Regions from separate parts of the Homo sapiens genome. Here all the other regions are linked to region 2. Evidence: promoter capture Hi-C in 16 types of primary human blood cells and fetal thymus (Javierre and others, 2016). All regions are on one chromosome and are shown on one strand. The core of a region is centred on a gene start or on the middle of the fragment in contact, and the rest is flanking DNA. Distances in the headings are between cores, read along the strand shown. Region 1 has its middle 22 kb from the start of CETN1. Region 2 holds the start of THOC1 (THO complex subunit 1). Region 3 has its middle 16 kb from the start of LINC01925.

Evidence for each region. Contacts are between HindIII fragments. The CHiCAGO score rates a contact against its expected background, and 5 or more counts as called.
Region 1: a fragment that was not itself captured here is called in contact with the fragment with the promoter of THOC1 in region 2 in 1 of 17 cell types (monocytes); the score reaches 5.1 in monocytes.
Region 3: a fragment that was not itself captured here is called in contact with the fragment with the promoter of THOC1 in region 2 in 1 of 17 cell types (M2 macrophages); the score reaches 5.1 in M2 macrophages.

Annotation. Positions count from the first base shown.
Region 1 is chr18:556,584-559,586 of GRCh38, reverse strand. No RefSeq gene overlaps it. Among named protein-coding and RNA genes, the nearest start is that of CETN1, 22 kb to the left of the region's middle. The HindIII fragment of the contact is 5,540 bases long and covers 1-3,003 here.
Region 2 is chr18:266,650-269,389 of GRCh38, reverse strand. THOC1 (THO complex subunit 1) reads left to right here and starts at 1,343. Exons shown (of 21, transcript NM_005131.3): 1 at 1,343-1,424. The coding sequence starts at 1,371. RefSeq lists a silencer at 435-614 and an enhancer at 1,005-1,474. The HindIII fragment of the contact is 5,170 bases long and covers 1-2,740 here.
Region 3 is chr18:530,418-533,117 of GRCh38, reverse strand. No RefSeq gene overlaps it. Among named protein-coding and RNA genes, the nearest start is that of LINC01925, 16 kb to the right of the region's middle. The HindIII fragment of the contact is 6,978 bases long and covers 1-2,700 here.

The DNA of each region.
Region 1 (3,003 bases), core at 380-2,879, 290 kb before region 2:
ACTCCGTCTCAAAAAAATAAATAAATAAAAATAAAAAATAAAAAATAAAAATAAAAATAAAATCTTGGTTTAACAGTTTAACCCTCAAAGGGTTTGGTTCTCAGTTCAGTTTATTTCTATATACTTGATTTTAATGGCTATGATAGCAGAAAAAGATACTTCACAAAAAATATATACATACGAAGCTGAAAGATGTGCGTTGTTGGGTGCAGTTACAAATAATGGTGTGTGTGTATATATATATATATATATATATATATATACACACACACACACATATATATGTGTATATATACACACACACACACCATTACAAATAATGGTGTATATATATATATACCATTACAAATAACGGTGTGTGTGTGTGTGTGTGTGTGTGTATACATATATATATACCATTACAAATAATGGTGTGTATATATATCATTACAAATAATGGTGTGTATATATATATCATTACAAATAATGGTGTGTATATATACATATATATATATACACACACACCATTACAAATAATGGTGTGTATATATATATATGTGTGTGTGTGTGTGTGTGTGTGTATATATATATACCATTACAAATAATGTAATGGCATGTATATATATGTATATATATATATATATACCATTACAAATAATGGCATGTATATATGTATATACCATTACGAATAATGGCATGTGTGTATATATATATATACCATTACAAATAATGGTGTTTGGGCCGGGTGCGTGGCTCACGCCTGTAATCCCAGCACTTTGGGAGGCCGAGGCAGGCGGATCACGAGGTCAGGAGATCGAGACCACCCTGGCTAACATGGTGAAACCCTGTCTCTACTAAAAATTCAAAAATTAGCCGGGCGTGGTGGCGGGCGCCTGTAATCCCAGCTACTCGGGAGGCTGAGGCAGGAGAATGGTGTGAACCCGGGAGGCGGAGCTTGCAGTGAGCCGAGATTGCGCCACTGCACTCCAGCCTGGGCGACAGACTCCGCCTCAAAAAAAAAAAAAAAGAAAAAAGAAAAGAAAATTTTCATCTTCCCTGATGGGAGGATGCTGCTTTTTTATATTTTTGACAAATGGTTCAAAGTACACTGACATTCTCCATTTTGAAGAGTTGAAAAATAATCTTTTTTCAAGTCTAAGTAGGCAGATACAAGTGTTTTAACAGGTGAGGCACATCTTTCAGGCAAGAAAGTTACATAATAAGGGAAAGATATCTTTACATACTCTGCAGGGATCCTCTAGTCTCCAGTTTCTTATCTTTGACATAAGTCATTTTACTGTGTTTCAGTTCAACTGATACCTCCTAGTGCCTTATGGGTATTTTATTCCATTTACTCTTAGTGATAATTTTTTATGTCAAAGATTTAGACAGTGGATCATTTGAACACATTTATTGTTTTTATTATTATCGTATATTTGAAATACACAGGCAGGGGGGAAAATTGATAACCTGAACATCTACCATCCCTTTATTTTTGGCCCAGGTGGCATGAGCATTCACTGACATCCCTAGGTAACTGAGCTTTTTATTGTGACCACAGTGTAGGTTACACACAGTACACAGTAGGTGCTCAATAGGTACTATTTGTATGAATGAATGAACAAATGAACGACCTAAGTTTTTTGACTTCCATAGTTGGTGATCTGACATGTGGGACCACTTCTTATTTATCTCTGTATCCCAAGTGTCTAGTATAATGTTTGTACAGAGTAGGTGTTGTTAAATTTTTTTGGAAAAAAAGAAAAAAAAGACAATAGGAGGGAAGAAAAGGAGAAAAGAGGAGAGGGAAGAATTCTGTGTATTCTTATCTAGCTGTCTAAGTTAAAAAGAATACTTAGTGGTTTTGGCCAGTTCCACTTTGACCTCATTTAAAGCCTTTTCAGTGCTCATTTTGAACAAGAGCAGTCAGAAAAGATTCCAGGGATAGCAATTACCTCTCTATATGTGAAAATGTTTTCCCAAGGGATAGAAGAAATAGAGAATTCTATTTTCATAAATTCTCAAGGCTACTCCTAATTGCCTATGGATTGGAAAATAATCCTTTGTCTTTGATGTTATTCTTTTTTTTTTTTTTGACTAAGTCTCGCTGTTGTCGACCTGGGCTGGAGTGCAATGGTGCGATCTTGGCTCACTGCAACCTCTGCCTCCTGGGTTCCAGCAATTCTCCTGCCTCAGCCTCCCGAGTTGCTGAGATTACAGGCACCCGCCACCATGCCCGGCTCATTTTTGCATTTTTAGTGGAGACAGGGTTTCACCATGTTGGCCAGGCTGGTCTCGAGCTCCTGACCTCAAGTGATCCACCTGCCTCGGCCTCCCAAAGTGCCAGGATTACAGGTGTGAGCCACCATGCCCTGCAGATGTTATTCTTTAACTATCTTTTAAAAGATAAAAAGCCAGCAGAGGTCTGTGGCTGAATTGCATTCCTCCTACCTGAACCCTGGAAGTCTGTGGTGGTTTAGGATATAATAATACTTCAGTTTACTCAGAGGTGAAAGTGAATAAAGTATAGCAAACAGATGGCTGTTAATATTGCATGCAGCACTTTAAAAAATTTTTTTAAATTATTTAAAAAATGTTTGTGGGTACATGGTGTATATATTTATGGGGTATATGAGATGTTTTGATACAGGCATGCAGTGTGAAACAAGCACGTCATGGGGAATGGAGCATCCACCCCTTACACATTTATCTTTTGAGTTACAAGCAATCCAGTGACATTCTTTAAGTTATTTAAAAATATACAATTAAGACGGCGCTGCATGTTTATATGTGGGATACACATCCTCATGCTGATACTTTGCCTCATGCCAGGTTGTTTAATCAGTGGCTTTGACAGTTACACAGTTACCTGCAGTGAGACGCCAGTAATACTTATAGAAACCAACCCACCGTAAGCTCTTGCTGTGAAGGTATTTAAATAATTAAAAACATTCCTTTATCAAAGGAGTCTCCTTCTGACAGTGGAATCCATAACTTTTGCAGCTTTTCAAAACATTCAGATGA
Region 2 (2,740 bases), core at 94-2,593:
GTTTCACTCTTGTCGCCCAGGCTGGAGTGCAATGGCACGATCTCCGCTCACTGCAACCTCCGCCTGCCGGGTTCAAACCATTCTCCTGCCTCGGCCTCCTGAGTAGCTGGGATTACAGGTGCGTGCCACCACGCCCGGCTAATTTTTGTATTTTTAGTAGAGACAGCGTTTCACCATGTTTGCCATACCTCAGGTGATCCACTCCTGACCTCAGGTGACCCACCTGCTTCGGCGTCCCAAAGTGCTGGGATTACAGGCGTAAGCCACCGCGCCTGGCCTCTATTTTAACTTTATGGCCAGTCAGCTATCTCCTCTAAATCACAAAAGGGAGAGGGTATAACCAGGTCCGTCTGACCTCCCATCCCGTTATGACTGGGAACTCAGTTGTTAAGATTTTGCTGGTGTCCCCTTGGCCTCACGGGGGTCTGTTCAGTTGTTGGGGGGCTTAGGATTTTAAATTTACAGACTTCGAAGAAGGGAACAAGATACACGTGTGAGGGAATAAGAGGAAGTTACCCGAGTCTGAGTCAGTGCTTCCTTCTCCACCGTGTAACTCCAACTTAGAGTTACTGCCACTCGGCTTCTATCGGCCACGTCTCTCCTGGGAAGGCAGGCAAGGGACGAAATGGAGGGAGACAAGGTTTTCGCTAGGGAAGCCTCGGCCCAGGACGCAGCGCCACCCGTTTTCCAATCAGCGCCGGGCACTGCATTCCTCCTAGGTCTCTTTCTTTCAGTAGAGACCTTTTAATAATAAATACTACTTACATTGCTTTACAGTTCACACTTGCGGTCATTATTTCAGTGGAGCTTTTCAACAGCTCTGTGAGACAGGTATTATTTCTATTTCGGAGCAGAGAGAACAGCGCCCTTGAGCCACAGGGCTCATACATCCGGAGCCTATCACCACTCCGCATCTTAAGCTCCCGGGATGACCGCGGACTGGCGGCCCAGGACCACTGCTCCAGCTGTTTCCCCAGGTAATCCACCTGCCTTGGGTTACCTTTTAGCGCGGCCCAGTTAGCCGCAACCAGCCACCATTTACCCGCTTTCCCCAAACCAGGAAAACCACAGAAACGCATGTGCGCGGCCAGTCTCTTCCACGCCCGGGAACGCAGAGCTTACAGACCAAGGCCGCCCAAGTCCCCTCACCCCAAAGGCTACCCAAGAACCCCGAGTAGGCTGTTTGGCTGACTCAGGCGCCCAACGCCCACCCGAACTGAGTCGCTAGGGAAACTCCCAACTGCCAGCTCGCCCGACCGGTGTTCACAGGCCACTCTAGCCGGGCTCAGAGAGACCGCAGTCTCGTTGCTCCTGGCTTGACGTCATCGGCAGGCGCCGCAGCGCAGTGGCGGGCACGCGCAGCCGAGAAGATGTCTCCGACGCCGCCGCTCTTCAGTTTGCCCGAAGCGCGGACGCGGTTTACGGTGAGCTGTAGAGGGGAGGGTGCAGGCCTGACCCGGCGCTATGCTTTGTCCTCTTCTCCCTGAAATTACTCGAATTTTGCCCTGGGGTAAAGTGAGACAGAGGTGTGTCCGCCTCAGCGTCCGCTCCGGGCCCCGTCGGAGGTTGAGGGGTAGGGAAAGACGCACTACCCGCCTCTTCTTTGTGGGCTGGGCCGTCCGCCTCCGCCCACCCTCCAGCGGGTCCCCGGACTGCGTGCTGGGCGCCTCGGCTCCCCGCTTGGAGTGCCCACCTGCAGACTACTGCTGGTTGGGTCCATCCTCTCAGCTCGTTTAGTGGGGCAGGTGTCTCGAGAAGGGGAAGGGGAGCTGCTGAAGGGGGAGGGTGGGAGTGGTTTCAGTCCAAAGACCTGGCTCCCGCCCTAGCCTTCTGAGCTACCAAGTGCTTGTTCCCGCCGTCTCTTCACCACCCCTTAACCCACCGTGTCTAACTCCTAAGCGATCGATGAGATCCTAAGCGGGAAAAGGCAGATAGATCACCTTGGGAAGGGTAACCAGATGCTATTTTATTCTTGCTCAATGTGGAAGGGTGGTTTTGAGCATTTGGGAAACACTTGACAGATCACTTTCTCATTTAACTATTAGAGTAACACTGTGAAGTAGGCTAAGTTGGTTATTCCTGGTACATGAGGTAGAAGCTGACACCCCCCAAAAAGTTGTGACTTCAGTGGTTTTTCTGACTTTAGACACTCTGTTCTTTTTATGTTGCTCGTCACAGCAACGTAAGTATGAAGAACACTTTTAAGTTGCCTGACTCTATTCGTCTCTAGCATTTGCACCAACATTTCTCAGATATTCGGCTGTGTTTTGGTAGTTATAGGGATGCCAGGATGAAAATTGTGTGAAAGAAAAATTCATCCTTTGTAGTAAGTAGTTTTCTTGTTTGCAGGGTTATATATATATATATATACATATATATACGTATACGTATAATATATATATACACACACACACAGTGTGAGGTTTTTTTTAAATGGATTATATTTTGTGTATGTCATCATAATCATTTTCTTTGTGTGCGTTTTGCTGCAATCTCTGGTGCTTTGAAAGCCTGCTAAGAGTAACTGTTAGGACTATCCAAGATCATATTGGCGGCCGGGCGCAGTGGCTCACGCCTGTAAATGCAGTACTTCGGGAGGCCGAGGCGGGCGGATCACCTGAGGTCAAGAGTTCAAGGCCAGCCTGGCCAACATGGCAAAGCCCCGTCTCTACTAAAAATACGAAAATTAGCCAGGCGTGGTGGTGGGCGCTGTAATCCCATCTACTTGGGAGGCTGAGGC
Region 3 (2,700 bases), core at 6-2,505, 260 kb before region 2:
AGCACCATCTGAGCAAATAGACTCTCCCAGAATCATTTTATGGCATTAACTTCACACTTAGGAGTTTATTACTTGAACCAGATCATTTCTGTTGCCATGCATAAATTTGTGTGTGCACCTTTGACCCTAAAATACAAGTGTGAGCATGCAATGGAAGACAGCAGTTGGCCCAAGACTCCAGAGTTCAAGCCCTGCCTCTGCCACTTAATAGACAGGTGGCCCAATGGAAGACACTCACTTTCTTAGCCTTATTGTTTGTATAAGTAATAATAGGAGTCATACATAGCCAGCTGGCCTAATGCCTAGGCTGAGTCCCATATGGGAAAGTGTGCTTCTACAGTGCAGACTTTATACATGTCTAAGGTGTTACTGTCATCAGATGGTGGTGGAGAATGTCTGGGTATTGGGAGCCCTGGTTTTAATTCCTACTTTAGTTGTATATCAACTGGAGACAATCACAAAAGCTCCTCAGGCCTGTTGACTCAATGGTCAAACGCAGAGATTTGCGTAGGGATTTGCTAGATATACTTCTGATATGAAAATTCTATTATGTTGGAAAATAATCTCTGATGTTTCACTCTTGTTTTTAGTTTTCTCATATAATAAAAGATTGAGTCTTGGATTTGGCTTTATGGAACTATATGTGAGCGTGCTTATGCAGAGGGGTTACTGGGGAGGAGGAGAGAGGAGAAGGGGAAATGGTCAAGAGGAAGGGGAGAGGAAATTGGAAAGAGGAAGAGGGATAAGATGTTACAACAGGCATTGTAGATTGGGAAAACAGACCACCTGGAACTGAAGGCCCCTGATTATGTGCTCTGAGGAAACAGGAGCCCAGGGACAGGGCGGATGTCGATGCTTTGACAAGCCCTGCTCTGGTCGTGAGTGAATCATCAGACTCACCTGCCTCCATCCCCAGCCCCACCCCACGCTGCTTCTGCTGTGCCAAGTATTCCTGATTTGGGTGTGGTCTTCTGCTTTCTCAACTTGTTTCTCTGAGAAAAATGACTTATCTAATTTAGGCACAATGACTTTGATAAGTGAAGAATTCCTTGGGAGTAATTACAGACAAATCCACATTAAACTATGGATAATTTTCTATTGAAATGGATTTCTTTCTACTGTTCTCAATTAAGATTCTGTCTTCTGGGACTCAGCTTCAAAGGTTGTATTTTTCTCCTTGTGGTTGCCAGAGACATTGTGTTACAATGACCATCTGGACACCAGAAGACCTGATTGCATCTAGCTCAGTCCTCCAGGCAAGACAGTAGGACAACAGAGATTGCATTATTTGGTCAAGGGAGGTCAGATATGTCAGGCAAGGCTAAAAATTTGACTTCTTAGCATTTTTTTGTTATTATTATTTTAATTGAGACAGAGTCTCGCTCTGTCACCCAAGCTAGAGTGCAGTGGTGCAGTCATTGCTCATGGCAACCTCAACCTCCTGGGCTCAAGCGATCCTCCCACCTCAGCCTCCTAAGAAGCTGGGACCACAGGTATGCACCACCATGCCCGGCTAGTTTTTGTATTTTTTTGTAGAGACAGGGTTTGCCATGTTGCCCATGCTGGTCTCGAAATCCTGGGCTCAAGCGATTCCCCTGCCTCGGTCTTCCAAAGTGCTAGGATTACAGGTGTGAGCCACTGCACCTGGCCTTATCAGCACTTCTTTTTGGTCTGAATCATTTTGGACAGTTAACTTAGTTCTCTGTTTCATCTTCTAAGACACATGTTCTGAGAAAAGAAATAAAGTCCCAAAATTAAATTTACAAAACATATCACTCTAGGGAGGTCCTTTCCATTTTTAAAAGGGAGAAAGCTGGAGATCCTGGAGGAATAGCTCCCAGGATTAAGTGCTGGGGAGGACCTTGCTTTTCAAGGGAGGATTTGGAAGTCCAGAGAGGTTGGGGGACTTGCCTACAGCCTTCGGTTTGCTCAAGGCCAAGCCAGCAAGCAGCATGACTCCCAGTATATTCTTTTTGTCTTAAATTTTTTTTTACCGTGAGAGACACATAAAATTTATTATCTTACCTTTTTTTTGTTTTGTTTTGTTTTTTGAGGCAGAATCTCACTCTGTCACCAGGCTGGAGTGCAGTGGTGTGATTTTTTGTTTGTTTGTTTTTGTTTTGAGACAGGGTCTTGCTCTGTCACCCAGACTAAAGTGCAGTGGCACAATCATAGCTCACTGCAGCCTCAAACCTCTGGGCTCAAGCAATTCTCCTGCCTCAGCCTCCCAAGTAGCTAGAGCTACTGGCGAGCAGCACTACATTCAGCTTTAACCTTTTTTAAGTGTACTGTTCAGTGGTATTAAATACACTCATGACGTGCAGCCATCACCGCAATCCATCGCCACAGCTCTTCATCTTGTAAAATTGCAACTCTGTGCCCATTAAACACTAACTCCACACTCTCTCCTCCTCGCCCTAGTCCCTGGCAACCATTCCACTTCCTGTCTCTATGAGTTTGATGACTCTAGGTACCTTCTGTAAATGGAACCATATAGTATTTGTCTTTCTGTGACTGGCTTTATTGCTTAGAATAATGTTCTCAGAGTTCACCCATGTTGTAAAATATCTCAGAATTTTCTTCCTTTTTAAGGCTGAATAATATTCCCTGGTATGTATAGATCATGTTTTGCTTATCCATTCATCAGATGAACACCTGGGTTGCTTCTGTGTTTTAGCTATGGTAGTAGCTCATTCTTTT